5 separate regions of the Homo sapiens genome follow, and regions 1, 2, 3 and 4 are each linked to region 5. Evidence: promoter capture Hi-C in 16 types of primary human blood cells and fetal thymus (Javierre and others, 2016). All regions are on one chromosome and are shown on one strand. Each heading gives the region's core, a stretch centred on a gene start or on the middle of the fragment in contact. The rest is flanking DNA. Distances are from core to core; before and after follow the strand shown. Region 1 holds the start of HAPSTR1 (HUWE1 associated protein modifying stress responses). Region 2 overlaps HAPSTR1 (HUWE1 associated protein modifying stress responses). Region 3 overlaps SNX29 (sorting nexin 29). Region 4 holds the start of USP7 (ubiquitin specific peptidase 7). Region 5 holds the start of DEXI (Dexi homolog).

Region 1 (2,700 bases), core at 173-2,672, 1.9 Mb after region 5:
AGGGCAGACACCCTGACGCAGGCGGCCCTTCCCTGAATCGGCAATGCAGCAAGGTTATCTTTACCTTTGTAGAGATTGGTGACGGCGGTGGCTGCGTTTTGGAAGGGGACCCAGAGAGAAAGTCCTGGCTGCTGACACACTCGGTCTGAAAAGCAAGCCAAAAAAAAAAAAAACCAAAAAGAAAAAAGAAACACACATAGAAAGAGAAAGAAAGAGAACAAGAATGTTATTTGCGCGTCAATCACTCCGGAACGGCCATATTAGGTTTCGCCATTTTGTTCAGGGGTTTCGGGATCCCAAACCCAGTGTGAGGACCGGGGGGGCAGGGAGGTCGCGGCGGGGAAAAGGGGATGCCGCAGAGCTCAGGGGCACAGATCAGGGACGAGCCGCGGCGCAGGGAAGCGCCCCCCCTGGCAGTCCCCGCCCCGAGGCCGGCTCAGGGCACAATGGGGCCGCCCCGCCGTCTCCCTTCGCCATTTTGTGACGGGGGCTCCTCCTCTCCCGTCTCCGGGCCGAGGGGGACACCGGGTGGCCGGGCCCGGAGAGCGGGGACCCTCGGACCACCCCAAAGCGGGGCTACCCCCACGCCGGCTCTGGCCTGTCCCCCCAACCCCGGGCCTCCCTCCCGCGGCGCCATCTTGCGGGGAGGGGGCGGCAGGGCCGCGGAGCCACCGGCCGGGATCCCCGAGGCCGCCGCCGTCGCGGCCCCCCGAAGCGGCCGCTGAGCCGATAGGGCCGGGGCCGGGCCCGGGCGGGGGCGGCCAAGCGGTACCAAGATGGCGGCGGCGGCCTCACCTTTGTAGAGCTGGGCCACGGCGGTGGCCGAGTTCTGGAAGAGGTGCCACAGCTTCTGCTGCTTGTGCTCGGGCTGCGCGGCGGCCGCCGCCTCCTCCTGCAGCTCGGGGGGCAGCTGCTCGTCCTGTTCGGCCTCGGCCAGGCACTGCCGCTCCCACTTGGAGAACCAGTGCTCGGGCCCGTGCTCCTGGATCTCGGCCTCGCCCTCCTCCTTCCGCTCCTCCATCCTCCGCGGCCTCCCGCGGCCTCGCCGCCACCGCCGCCGCGTCCTCCTCAGGCGGGGCCCCCGCGGGAGCGTCGTCGTCAAGCGGCCCGGCGGCAGGGCCTGGCGACCGACGGCGCCTTCTCCTTTCAGCGGCCCAGGCCTCCTGCACCCCGACGGCCGGCGAGCCCCGCCCCGCGGCCCCGTGCAACCAGGGACGACCCCCGCCCCAGGCCTTCCCACCCCCGGGCCCGGCCGAAGGTCGCCGCGGACCAGATAACCGCTGCCGCCCCTCGCCTCGGCCGCCGCAGCCTGTCTAACGCCCCCCCATGGCGCTGCGGCCTCCCCACTGCCGCCGCCGCCGCTGATCGCCGAGCCCTCCGCGCAGCTCGGCCTGCACCGCGGAGCCCACCCCAAGACTGAGCAACGTCGTCGTCGTCGCCACCGCCGAGGACGGCTCTGCGGCTGCTGGTCCCCGCCCTACCCCGCCCACATGCTGACAGGAGAAGCACCGCCCACTGGGCCCAAGCTACCCTGCCCGGTTGAGGCGTGGCCGCTCCAAGGGCCCCTATTAGTCGGATCCGGCCGGTTCCGCGTGGCGGCTTCTGAGCACAGCGTCGTGATTGGTTCTTCGGCCTGTCTGCCTGACGTAACCAATTGGCTGGGGGAAGGGAGTGAATGTCAGGAAGGATGAAGGAGGAGGAGGGGGAGGAGCTGACAGTGGTTGCGTCCGAGCCAAGGGGGCGGGTGGGGGGTGGAGGGGAAGAGCTAGAAGGGATGCGCATGCGCACTTGCTCGCTGCTCCCCCCCCCGCTCAGGGGCGTTGAGTGGGGATCACGTGACGAGGCCCAGCGACCGCACCCCGCGGGAGCTTTTCCGGCGTGTACAGGCCCTGGGGGGATGCAAAGTCGAGTGCGGCTCCTGTGCCGCGGGCACTGAGAGGTATAGTGGGTGGTAGCGTGCTTACTCCAGCCCCTGGGGCTCCCAAAGGGAGGAGGGTAGTAGAGAAAGTGAATAAAACGCCCAACTCGTGTCCAAGTTTGCAAAGCGCTTTCCTATTCTTTTGAGTACTCCCCCTTTTTTTTTTTTTTTTTTGAGACGGGGTCTTGCTACGTTGTCGAGGTCTAGACTGCTGGCCTCAGGCGATCTTCCAGCCTCCCAGGGCGCTGGGATTACAGGCTTGAGCCACCGCGCCCGGCCCAGAGTCCCATTTCTTAGACGGGCAAATCGACCATCACAGCCAAAGAAAAACTTCCGAGTTGCGAAGTCGGCTCAGTTGCCCCTGCGCCCTGGCGTCCCCCGAGGACGTCGCGCCTTCCGGGTGGACAGGACCTCGGCGGCCGCCCGCGGAGCCAAGGATAACCCGACGGCCGACGGTGCCCGGTGCCCGCACGCGTGCGTCTGCGCCTTTGCGCGCGCGGCGGCCCCCGCACCTGTCCCGAAAAGCACACTCCCAGGCCACGTGCATGCCCCGCGTCACGTACCGGCCCCTGCCTTCCCCGGCCCGAACCCGCGTGGCGGTGCCGAGCGCTGCGCCCGCCCCTACTCCCCCCGCAGTGCGCGATAGCTGGACGCCCCTGCGGCTGCGCGCCCCCCTCCCCTGTCGGGGCTTTCTCCAGGGTCTGAGGCCCCGGAGAAGGCAGCAACGCAGACAGGCGGTGACCGCACAGAGGCAAAACCCACCATCCCCACCTACATGCCCA
Region 2 (2,700 bases), core at 201-2,700, 1.8 Mb after region 5:
GCTGGAGGCCAGTGCAGAACCCAGAAGCGAGCCCTCGGACTCTGAGAAGGGAATCTTATCCAGCCATGCCACGACAAGCACATTTAAAGGCTAACATCTGAGTCCTCACTTCGCACCAGGCATGGTGCTAGGCATCCTCCACACCATAACCTTGAGGGAGGGGCCCGGGAGGCAGGCCGCCAGTGGGACTGTCACCTACACCCTACTGACCCCAAAGTCCTTCTCTTCACCACCACCCTAGTTCTTGACAGACCTAAGGCCCAGGAAGAGGAAAAATAGGGAGTTCCTTGTGAAAACCTAGAAAACTTCAAGCCACCTTTTATGAACTCATTCAAGAAATGTCTATACCTACCCTGTGCTGCATGCTGAGGTCCAGAGAGCCCAGGTTTTCAAGCTGGCTGTGAAATCAACACAGTTGGTCACATACAACATCCTGTTCAGTGAAACAGCAAGAAGCTATAAAGTGCATTTGACATAAAAAGCTAAGAACTGCTGAGACCTGTTTCATCAGTTCTGTGTGTTCATTCACAAAAGGTGTGGCTGGGTAAAAGATCTTGATGGGAGAGGTATTTCTTACCACAGATCATAGTCCAGTATGTCTGAGAAACACTGAGGATGGGCAAGAGGCGAGCCTTCCTGTGCCCAATGCAATTGTGTACGCAAACACAGTTCTATACAACATTCACATTAACCTAAGAGACCCCAAACAGCAAATAAGAACTTCTTGGTAGTTACAAATTTCTACATACACCTTGAAATCAACATGGCCATGGTGATCTTGAGACTCACCATGGGGAAAAGAGTTTGGGAGTGATTAAGCTCCTGCCCACTACACTCAAGGACAGTTTAGCAGGTGATCCCCTTTTCCCCAGGGAACTTCAGCCCTGGCACCGCCACTCCTGAGGAAGAGGTATGAATGGTCTTAGAATCCTTCCTTAAAGCTCTAAGTTATAGTGGCACATACCTTGGTGGGTTTATAGAGGGCATTCAGATTATGAGTCCACAAGCAAATAGTTCTGAGTGTTGAGCCCACTGGACCCACCGGTGCCAAAAGCAGCCCAGTGGTAGCTGGCTGCCCCAGGCACCCCCAAACCCTTCTTCCAGGGTCAAGCTACAAAACTCTTGTCAGCCAGCTGAGCCCTCCTTGTTGCTGAAGCTGCAGAAAACCACAGGCCTTCTGAAGCTCCCAAAGGCAATTCCACTAAGTGATGAGAGCCCCAACACTTCCAGCAGCAACTCAGAGAACACGCCCACCAGGCCTAAAACACAAGCAAATGCTACGGCCCTCCCCAACAGCGGCCGTGCACAGCAACCACACCAGCACCCCATACTCCCTCTACTTGGGCTAAAGGGGAGTAGCTTCCCTGCTTGAGGGTTAAGTACTAGTGAAGTGAGGCAGCCTGTACTTGCCGGCCTGTGGCATCTCCTAGGAGGGCATTCAACTTCAGTTTGAAAAATTAAAATCTCTCTTACATGTGAACAAGCCCCTTCCCTGAAAACTCACCACTTAGTGTGTTACCTATCGAGGCTGCAGTGAGCTATGATCGCACCAAAGCACTCCAGCCTAGGCAAGAGAGTAAAACCCTGTCTCAAAGAAAAAAGAAAGGGCTAATTTTTCTTTTTCTTTTTTTTAGACGGAGTCTTGCTCTGTCGCCAGGCTGGAGTGCAGTGGTGCAATCTTTGCTCACCGCAACCTCTCCACCTCCCGGATTCAAGTGATTCTCCTGTCTCAGCCTCCCAAGTAGCTGGGACTACAGGTGCGTACCACCACGCCCAGCTAATTTTTGTATTTTTAGTAGAGATGGGGTTTCACCATGTTGGCCAGGATGGTCTCAATCTCTTGTGACCTCGTGATCTGCCCGCCTTGGCCTCCCAGTGCTGGGATTACAGGCGTGAGCCACCACGCCTAGCCAAAAAGGGCTAATTTTTCAATGGCATGTTAAGATAAGCTATCAGCCACATTCCAGAGTTCTCCAGGGCTCTGCTGATGGGAGAATTATAAATGGAGATGTAAATGTATCCAACTTCCAAGGAACACAAGTCACTAACATTCACATTTTTTAATTTATTTTTCTATGTTTTCTATTTATTTCACAGATGAGAAAACAGCCCAGAGAGGCAAACTTACCTAGGTTCCCAGACCTGGTAGTAGAGTCAGCATTCAAACCCACGTGATATCAAGCAAAAAGTCTTCCTTCATACGAGCAGGTAAAAAACAGATTAAAACTGAAAGGTCACTTCTGCCAAAGGAAGTATAAATACCCAACACTGGCTACGATGTAAGGGAACAGGCGCTCTTACTTTCTGATGGAAGTATTAACTGGTACCTTGCAGAAGGTACTTTGGCAAGACCCATCAGTATTTTATAGATGAATTTTTTTGACCCAGATAGTTCATCTACAGAAATTTGTCATAGAGAAACTTAAAACATAGGCCAGGCGCAGTGTCTCATGCCTGTAATCCCAGCACTTGGGGAGGCCAAGGCGGGCAGATCACTTAAGGTCAGGAATTCAAGACTGGCCTGGCCAACATGGTGAAATCCCGTCTCTACTAAAAATTCAAAATTAAATTAGCTGGGCGTGGTGGCGCACACCTGTAGTTATAGGCAGGAGAATCGCTTGAACCCGGGAGGCAGAGATTGCGGTGAGCTGGGATCGCACCACCGCACTCCAGCGACAGAGACTCCATCTCAAAAAACAA
Region 3 (2,700 bases), core at 90-2,589, 1.1 Mb before region 5:
ACGGGTCTAGCCCTGTCACCCAGGCTGGAGTGCAGTGGTGTAATCATAACTCACTGCAGCCTTGACCTCCTGGGCTCAAAGAATCCTCCTGCCTCAGCCTCCCAATTAGCTGGGAATACAGGTACGCACCACCATATCCAGGTAATTTTTTTTATTTTTTATAGAGACAGAGTCTCACTATGTTGGCCTGGCTAGTCTCAAACTCCTGCCCTCAAGTGATCTGCCCACCTTGGCCTCCCAAAGTGCTGGGATTACAGGTGTGCGCCACTGCACCCGGCCTATTTATTGACTCTTAACTCTGATCCTGATGCTGTTCTAAGCACATCACAGTTATCTTCATGGCCGCCCATGATTTGGGTGTTGATCCTGTCACTCTATCTTGATAAGGACACGGTACTGAGGGGGCTGGGGCCACTCAGCTGGAACCTGAGCCCAGGCAGCTGAGCTTCCGAGTGTGCCCTCCCGGCCCTGAGGGCACATGGCCTCCCGAGAGCAACAGGCACAGCTGCAACTCCAACCCCAGGTACAGCTCCGTGTGCCCGAAACAAGAACTGGGAACCTACCTGCAGAAATGCAAGGCATCCCTGAGGCAGAATTATGGGTGTTTTAGTTTGCTCCAAACTGTCTTTACTGCTTTGCTAAATAATTAACTTTTTCACTTTGGAAAGCCGAGGTGGGCGGATCACAAGGTCAGGAGTTCGAGACCAGCCTGGCCAACATGGTGAAACCCTGCCTCTACTAAAAGTACAAAAATTAGCTGGGTGTGGTGGCGGGCATCTGTAATCCCAGCTACTCATGAGGCTGAGGCAGGAGAATAGCCTGAATCCGGGAGGCGGAGGTTTCAGTGACCCGAGATCGTGCCACTGCACTCCAGCCTGGGCGATAAGAGCAACACTCCGTCTCAAAAAAAAAAAAAAATTAACTTTTTCATAACAGGCTTTTGTATTTTCTGAAGTACCAGAGGGCCTTGCAGTAGGAGAACAATCATGTGGGTCTGGATACACCATCTTCTCTTCAGTAGTAAATAACCACAAGAATACAGTCCCTCTGAATGCCTCAGGACAAAACACCCTTTGCAATTTCAGAGATACCTGAGAGGGAAAGGTTGCTCGATAGAAGACTTCACAATTATCCGCAGGCACTGAGGATTAAATTACCTAGCTCTAGCTCAATTACAGTACAGAGGCAGCCACCTCCACAGATTATTACACGAAGCCAGGGAAGCCACTTGGCGGGATGTGAGTGAAGCATTCGCTGCTTTGTGGGGCAGAGCTGATGAGTTTCTTTGCCAAGCTCCTCTGGGGTTTCCAAGAGTCCAGTGACTGCTCTAGAGGAGAATCTCAGGTGCTTCACATGCAGCAATGGGATGCTCCATCTGAACTGGGACGGCATTTGCGACACTCACTCCTGGGACAACTCATGCTATGGACTGAATTGCATCCCTTCCCTAATGAACCAGTGGAAGACCTAACTCCCAATCGGAGTTTATATGGAGACAAGGCCTTAATGAGGTAATCAAAGTTAATAAGGTCATAAGCATGGGGCTCTGATCCCACAGGACCGGTGCCCTTATAAGAAGAGATAAGGGACACCAGGATGTGCCTGCAGAGGAAAGGCCACATAAGGACAGAGAGAAGGTGGCTGTCTGCAAGCCAAGGAAAGAGGCCTTACCAGAAATCAACCCTGCTGGCACCTTGATCTTGGTCTTTCAGCCTCCAGAACTGTAAGAAAATAAGTTTTGAGGGGTTTTTTTTTTTTTTGAGACATAGTCTTGCTCTGTCGCCCAGGCTGGAGTGCAGTGGTGCAATCTCAGCTCACTGCAGCCTTTGCCTCCCAGGTTCAAGCGATTCTCCTGCCTCTGCATCCCGAGTAGCCGAGATTACAGGTGCCAGCCACCACACCATGCTAATTTTTTGTATTTTTAGTAGAGACAGGGTTTCACCATGTTGGCCAGGCTGGTTTTGAACTCCTGACCTCAAGTGATTCCCCCCACCTCGGCCTCCCAAAGTGCTAGGATTACAGGCATGAGCCACCGTGCCCGGCCGAGAAAATAAGTTTTTGTTGTTGAAGCCACCCTATCTGTGGCCCCTTGTTATGGTAGCCCAAGCAAATACCCCGGACACCCAGACAGACCCACTCTTCTTACTCCTCTTGCATGTGACACAGGAGGTGATGGCAGGGTGGGAAAACACAAGTGAAAACCACCCTTCGCTCAAAATTTCTAGGATTCCTGACCCCTCATCTGTGCTGGATGACATCCAGGGTAGACAACAGCACTGTCCTTGAAGACTCCTAAAGGTACAGGCACCGCAGAAGACAGAAGCCCCTTGTCCCAGCCACCCACACACAATCCTAACCACAGACCACGTTTCTACCAAGTATCAAGGCTCAAATGCAGACATGGTGACATTTTTTTCTTCAGAGATTCAAGGTATAAGCTCTGGATATGTCCCAAACTTGCTCAAAATGCCAAATAATAAAATGATATAGTTTCTAAAAAATTGTCTGAGTCAAAACAAGAAAAACAATCTACGCCTCTGTCACTGGCCTAACTCGAGCATGTTTAAGGGCATGTATGTCATCACTGAAAATGCACAGGCAAGGCCAGTGACTTCCTCAAAGACAGAAAGCGGCTGAGGAAGGCCCAGACACCATGCTCTATGTGGACCTGAGACGCAGCTGACAAAGCAAACCGTGTTT
Region 4 (2,700 bases), core at 90-2,589, 2.0 Mb after region 5:
GAGCACTTGCTGTGTATCCCAGGCATTTGTGATACAACAGTGAGCAAAACATTCTTTCGGGGGGAAGGGAGATGAACAGTACATAAATGGGAGAAAAATGCAGGGAAAGCGGGTATAGGGAGATGGAGAGAAGACAGGTACCACAATCTTCTGGCCTTGTTAGGGTGAAATTCTATTCTCCCCTGAGATGTGTAGAAATGTATATCGGTTTGCTCCATTTTTATTGACCCACACTGCCTTGATTAACTGGAAAAGTTGAGACCCTAATCATCAGTCTGTCAATGACTGAATGAGACAGGACAGGAGATATATTCACCAAATGTCTCCTGGAATAGGGAGGCCCCGGGTGAATGATCCCAGACTGGGTTGATAGGAAGGAAGTAAATTAATACCAAATGTGAAGGGTAGTGGGCTTGTTTTATTTTTATATTATTATTTTATTATCACTATTAGTTGAGACAGGGTCTCATTCTGTTGCCCAGGCTGGAGTGCAGTGGCGCCATCTTTGATCACTGCAGCCTCAGTCAACCTCCCAAGCGAACCTCCAGCCTCAGCCTCCCAAGTAGCTGTCACTACAGGCAGGAGGCACAACACCCGGCTAATTAAAAATACATTTCAAAAATATAAAAACAAAACCCAAAACCTTTGTAGAGAGGGTGGTCTCTTACTCTTGGCCTCAAGTGATTCTCCCACCTCGGCCTCCCAAAGTGCTGGGATCACAGGTGTGAGCAGCTGCGCCCCGCCTGGGGTTGCTCTTGAGGAGCCAAACTTTGCCAGATTAGGCTGACAGTGAGAAAATAAATTCTTCCACGGTAGATACTGGGTGAAAAAGTGCACGTCAGCGGGCAAGGGTAAGTAACGACAATAACAGGAACTTCTAGGCGCTGACCCCAAGCTCCCTTCCGGGCCCTATCCCGAGCAGTCCCCGGGCAACCTCCAGCGCTCGCCCCGGCGCGCTAGGCTGGGACCTGAACCCCGGCTGCCGGGTGGCTTCTGGGCCCCTCCTCATTGCCGCTCCTGGGTCTTTCGGGGTGTCCGGCTCCCCAGGATGGGAAGGATTCCGGTTCACCTCCGCAGGGCTAAGTCACCGGGCGGCCCGCCTCGGCCCCCAGGGCCCGGGGGCAGGGAGCGCCGAGGGTCCGCCGCGGGGCTGCGGCGCAGGCGGTGCCGGGGCGCGGCGCTGCGGGGCAGGCGGGCCTCGGCGGCGGCGGCAGGCGGGTCGCTCCCTGCTCCGCCTCCCGTGCTCCGCCCTGCGCTCCCGCTCCGCCCTCCGGCTCGGCGCCCGCCCGCTTGCTCTCCTCGCTCGCTCGCTCGCTCCGCGGCCCCCCATGCGGATGTGACATTTCACGCCGCCGCCATTTTGAGAGCGAGCCGAGCCGAGCTGCCGGGCGCCGCGTCCGCTGCCGGAGCCCCGACGACGACGCCGAGGAGGCGGAGGCCGCGGCTCTCGGAACGCGGCCGGCCCGTCGCCCGCCCGCTCCGCCGCTCCCGCCGGCCCCAGGGCCCGCAGGCCCGCCGCGGCCGGCCAGGCCTCCCGTCCGCCGCGCCCGGCCCGAGGCGGGGCTGACTCCGCGGCCCCCGACCGGCCGCCCTCCGCCCCCGGCCGGCCCGCGGCCCCGCAGCCCCGGCCCCGGCCCCGGCGGCGGGAGGCGGGCCCCGCGGCGGCGGCGGCGGCGGCCGCAGCGAGCGACGAGGCCGCCCGGCCCGGCCCGCCGGCCGCCCGCCCGCCTCGGCGCCGAGATTGGGCGAATCGCGAGCAAGTACGTGCGCGTCTCCCTGCCGCCGCCGCCGCCCGCCGCGGGCCGCCCCGGGGCCGCCGTCGCCGACGACGCGCGGGAGGAGGAGGAGGAGGCCGCCCCGCCGCCGCCGCCGCCGCCGCCGCCCCGGCTCGCCGCCGCCCGCCCGCCGGGCTCGCAGCCCCGGCCCCCGGCCGCAGGCGAGGCCCAGGCCGCGGCCGACATGAACCACCAGCAGCAGCAGCAGCAGCAGAAAGCGGGCGAGCAGCAGTTGAGCGAGCCCGAGGACATGGAGATGGAAGGTGAGGCCCGAGGGCCGGCCGCGGCGGGGCCGGGGGGCGCCTTTCATTGTGGCCGGGGGAGCCGCGGGAGCCACGCGAGGGGCTCGCCATCTTTAACCAGGCCCCGGGCGGCCGCCGGGCCTCGGCCTGGCCTCCCGGCCCCGGCCTGCGAGGCTGCAAAGTCATGCCGGGTCCGCGGGCGAGGGGCGGCCGCCGGGACCCCGGCCCCGTGCATTGTCCCGACCTCGCGTCCGCCGGGCCTCCGCGGCACAAAGCGCCCTGAGTTGTAAATTCGAGCGCTCAGGCAGCGGAGGGACGGAGGTGTTTTCTCACCCAGGTTGGGAGGCGGACTCCGGGGACCGTCCCCGTTCTGGGGCGTCCGGTTGGATCTGGTGTGGCTGGGGAATTCCTGACCTCCCCGGGCGCGGGGCTCGCCCGCACCTGCTCCGGTGCGCTCCCCCGGAGGGCGCGCCGTGGCTCGGAAGCGCTCTTCCAAATCACTTTCTAACAGCACTGCCTAGCGTCGGGCTTACGTTCGAAAATACCTGCAAGGAACGCAGATGTTGTCAGGTTTTGGACTGGCCCAGAGTTCTGACCCGGGCGCTGTTGGTTTCCGAATCCACCTGTTTTTCGGGGAGTTTGTACTTGGCAGTGTGTGGTGCAGCCAGCATCCGGCCAGGTGT
Region 5 (2,700 bases), core at 145-2,644:
ACTGAACATTTTGTACTTCCAGAGGATTCCTCTGGTCTTCAGCCAGAATCCATGCTATTTCCCAAAGTACCACGTTAAAATGAAAAAGGAAACACCCAACTTTCTGCATGAGCCAGAATATATCTAACTTCTACCCTGGATTAGAAGTGGTAAGTTCAGTGTGGGCAAGACTTCTCAAGTTTACCATCCATTCATTCATTCAGTCACTTCTACATATCAACCTTATTAAAGGTCCACTGTGTCCCATTAACTCTGCTCAAGAAAGAACTGGGCCAGAGGCCAATGTTCTCCCCAGTGCCTAGCACAAGGTTTGGCACATAGCAGGTGTTTAACAAATATTGGTAGAGTGCATGAATGAGTAAAGGTTTGTTTCACCTTCAGCAGTTGGAGAAATGGATAAGAGTGGAGAGTTAATGGTTTGTCCTGTAATTCATATAGAGTGGGGCAAGACAAAGTCATGGAGCAAAAAAGAACAGGATCTGGCCTCCAAAGAAACACACCCAGGCTCAGAAATGTAGGATCCCTGGGCTCGTATTTTTCATCTGTAAAAAGTACGCACATACATACTACACTGCCTTGTATACCTCCGATTAAGCGATGCATGTAAAATACTCAGCTCAGTGTGGCCTGAGATTTAAAGGTTTCTTGAACTGCTTTGGAAGGCTCTTTGGGCGAGATCATGTTTTCCTGAAAGACATGCAACGGTTACCCAAGAGCAGGGGAACCAGTGGGTGGGAGAGACTCACTTTTCTGTGTACTTCACGGTTGTTTGAATGTTTAGCCATGTGTATTATTGCTTTTAAACATGATTCACAAAGTAAAAAGAAACAAAAAGCATCCTTATGGTTGAAGATCTGAACTACCTCGGAATCTCTTTATTCAGGTGTTCCTTAACTCTAGGATGCAGGTTCCGTAGTGGGCGGACCTTCCAGCAACCAGAGTTTGGAGAAGCGAAGGGGACACTGGTGGATCTCCACCATGAAAATTGGCGCTTTGGGAATGTCCAAAATTTCCAGGGCAACCGTCCGTCGCCCCTCCCCGACCCCGCCTCCTTTTAAAGGAGAAACGGAGTCCCAAAGAGGCATGCAGCAAGGTGCAGCGGTAGCCCGGGTTTCCTTCGGCTTTTGCGGCCTTAGCATTATGTCTAGGTTTGAACTGTGTTCAGTCTCTTTTACCTCCCCCTATTCGATACGCAGAGCGAATTCGATTTGAGATCTGAGGGCAGACCCGAACCAGGAAAGCAACTCAGACGCTAGGGCCCCGAGGGGCGGAGCGAAGCGGTACCCGCCCCCTGGCGGCCGGAGCCAATCAGCGCGGGCGTTGAGCCGGCCAATTAGCGCGTGCAGGGGGCGGCCTGCCAATGAGCTCGGGGCCCCTCGGGAGGCGGAGCTCCGAGCGCCACCGGGAGGGCTACGCGGCGGCCGCAGCCATGGGTGCTGGGCCTGCGGGGGCGCGGGGGGTGCGCGAGGACCTGCGGGGCGGGGCGGGAGAGAAGGCTGCCGGGACCGGCCCTAGACACTGAGCCGCGGTGGGATCCCCACCGGCTCTGCGAGGCCCTGCGAGCGCCAGGGAGGCGCCACGAGGGAGCCGGGCAGCCGCGGGCCACTTCAGGGGGGCCCGCCTCGCCGCCCGGGCGGTCGAGAGATCCTTGGGGGCACATCTCGGGGTGCGGTGACCCGCCCGGCGCATTTCGGGGGTCGGGGCGCAATTGCCAGGGGACATCTGGAGCCCGGCCCTGCTTCTGTCGGGCTCCAGGGTACCCCTGGATGGCTGCGCTGTGCCCTCGCCGGCCGCCCGGGCGCCGCAGCGGCTGAGTTCGCCGGGATCGCCGGGCCGCCGCCCTTGCCACCCGCTGCATGCTCGGCGCCCGGGTCGCGGCCCACCTGGACGCACTGGGCCCCCTGGTCCCCTACGTGCCGCCGCCGCTGCTGCCCTCTATGTTCTACGTGGGCCTGTTCTTCGTCAATGTGCTGATCCTGTACTACGCCTTCCTCATGGAGTACATCGTCCTCAACGTGGGCCTCGTCTTCCTGCCCGAGGACATGGACCAGGCGCTCGTGGACCTCGGCGTGCTCTCCGACCCCGGCTCGGGCCTTTACGATGCTGACTCGGAGCTCGACGTCTTTGATGCGTACTTGGAGTAGGGTCTCGACTGCTGTTCCCCTCTTCCCTACACGATCCGCAACCCATGCCCTGGACCAGCCGCCCAGATCATGCCGCCGCAGCTGGTTGGGGGCACCATCTGGACGGGGATGGTTCCCCAGGAGGAGACCCTCCCCTGCCTCCGAGGCCTGTAAGTGCCCTCTCTGAACAGGATGAGGGCGGGTTGGGGCGCTAGCAAGGGAGAGGGAGGAATTCCCAGGCCGGATACACACCCCTCCCTCAGGCTTCTCCTCCGTTCACCTCCTCCAGGTCTAACTGGATGCCAGGAATGGCCAGACTCCTCTTAAGCCCTTCGTTTGGGCTGGAAAGCTTCCTCCAGCAAAGGGGACAGCTGGTGAAAAGGAAGGAGACCCCGAGACTAAGTTACATTTGGGGTAGCTCTGTGACTTACCCCCAAAGCTTATGGAAAAAGCCTTCGCTCCCAAATCCATTTGAGGCAGAGCTGTCAGCTCCTCCTCCAGTCCTCATCCTGGCTTGATGATGACCTTGGCTTTTGGGGGATTCTCGCTTGTCCTAGAAGGATAAAGATTTAGGGGT

Evidence for each region. Contacts are between HindIII fragments. The CHiCAGO score rates a contact against its expected background, and 5 or more counts as called.
Region 1: the fragment with the promoter of HAPSTR1 here is called in contact with the fragment with the promoter of DEXI in region 5 in 8 of 17 cell types (M0 macrophages, M2 macrophages, non-activated CD4 T cells and 5 more); the score reaches 16.8 in M0 macrophages.
Region 2: a contact is called between a fragment that was not itself captured here and the fragment with the promoter of DEXI in region 5, in 1 of 17 cell types (endothelial precursors). The highest score is 5.1, in endothelial precursors.
Region 3: a contact is called between a fragment that was not itself captured here and the fragment with the promoter of DEXI in region 5, in 7 of 17 cell types (naive CD8 T cells, activated CD4 T cells, total CD8 T cells and 4 more). The highest score is 13.3, in naive CD8 T cells.
Region 4: the fragment with the promoter of USP7 here is called in contact with the fragment with the promoter of DEXI in region 5 in 12 of 17 cell types (fetal thymus, non-activated CD4 T cells, M1 macrophages and 9 more); the score reaches 15.6 in fetal thymus.

What each region holds. Positions count from the first base shown.
Region 1 is chr16:9,090,366-9,093,065 of GRCh38, reverse strand. It overlaps HAPSTR1 (HUWE1 associated protein modifying stress responses), which reads right to left and starts at 1,422. Exons shown (of 4, transcript NM_014117.3): 1 at 796-1,422; 2 at 65-145. The coding sequence starts at 1,021. RefSeq lists enhancers at 1-122, 2,392-2,700 and silencers at 273-772, 983-1,322, 1,493-1,562, 2,351-2,481. The HindIII fragment of the contact is 14,700 bases long and covers 1-2,700 here.
Region 2 is chr16:9,120,986-9,123,685 of GRCh38, reverse strand. HAPSTR1 (HUWE1 associated protein modifying stress responses) reads right to left here. Exons shown (of 4, transcript NM_014117.3): 4 at 2,051-2,700. Among named protein-coding and RNA genes, the nearest start is that of HAPSTR1, 31 kb to the right of the region's middle. RefSeq lists an enhancer at 1-197. The HindIII fragment of the contact is 6,607 bases long and covers 1-2,700 here.
Region 3 is chr16:12,082,366-12,085,065 of GRCh38, reverse strand. The region is part of intron 11 of SNX29 (sorting nexin 29); the gene reads right to left. Among named protein-coding and RNA genes, the nearest start is that of SNX29, 110 kb to the right of the region's middle. The HindIII fragment of the contact is 5,369 bases long and covers 1-2,700 here.
Region 4 is chr16:8,962,545-8,965,244 of GRCh38, reverse strand. USP7 (ubiquitin specific peptidase 7) reads left to right here and starts at 1,339. Exons shown (of 31, transcript NM_003470.3): 1 at 1,339-2,038. The coding sequence starts at 1,960. USP7-AS1 (USP7 antisense RNA 1) reads right to left here and starts at 2,532. Exons shown (of 2, transcript NR_184341.1): 1 at 2,351-2,532. RefSeq lists a silencer at 877-1,236 and an enhancer at 2,432-2,700. The HindIII fragment of the contact is 5,189 bases long and covers 1-2,700 here.
Region 5 is chr16:10,941,162-10,943,861 of GRCh38, reverse strand. It overlaps DEXI (Dexi homolog), which reads left to right and starts at 1,394. Exons shown (of 2, transcript NM_014015.4): 1 at 1,394-2,293. The coding sequence starts at 1,857. The coding sequence ends at 2,144. It also overlaps a transcript of CIITA not described here. RefSeq lists a silencer at 1,255-1,804. The HindIII fragment of the contact is 2,950 bases long and covers 1-2,474 here.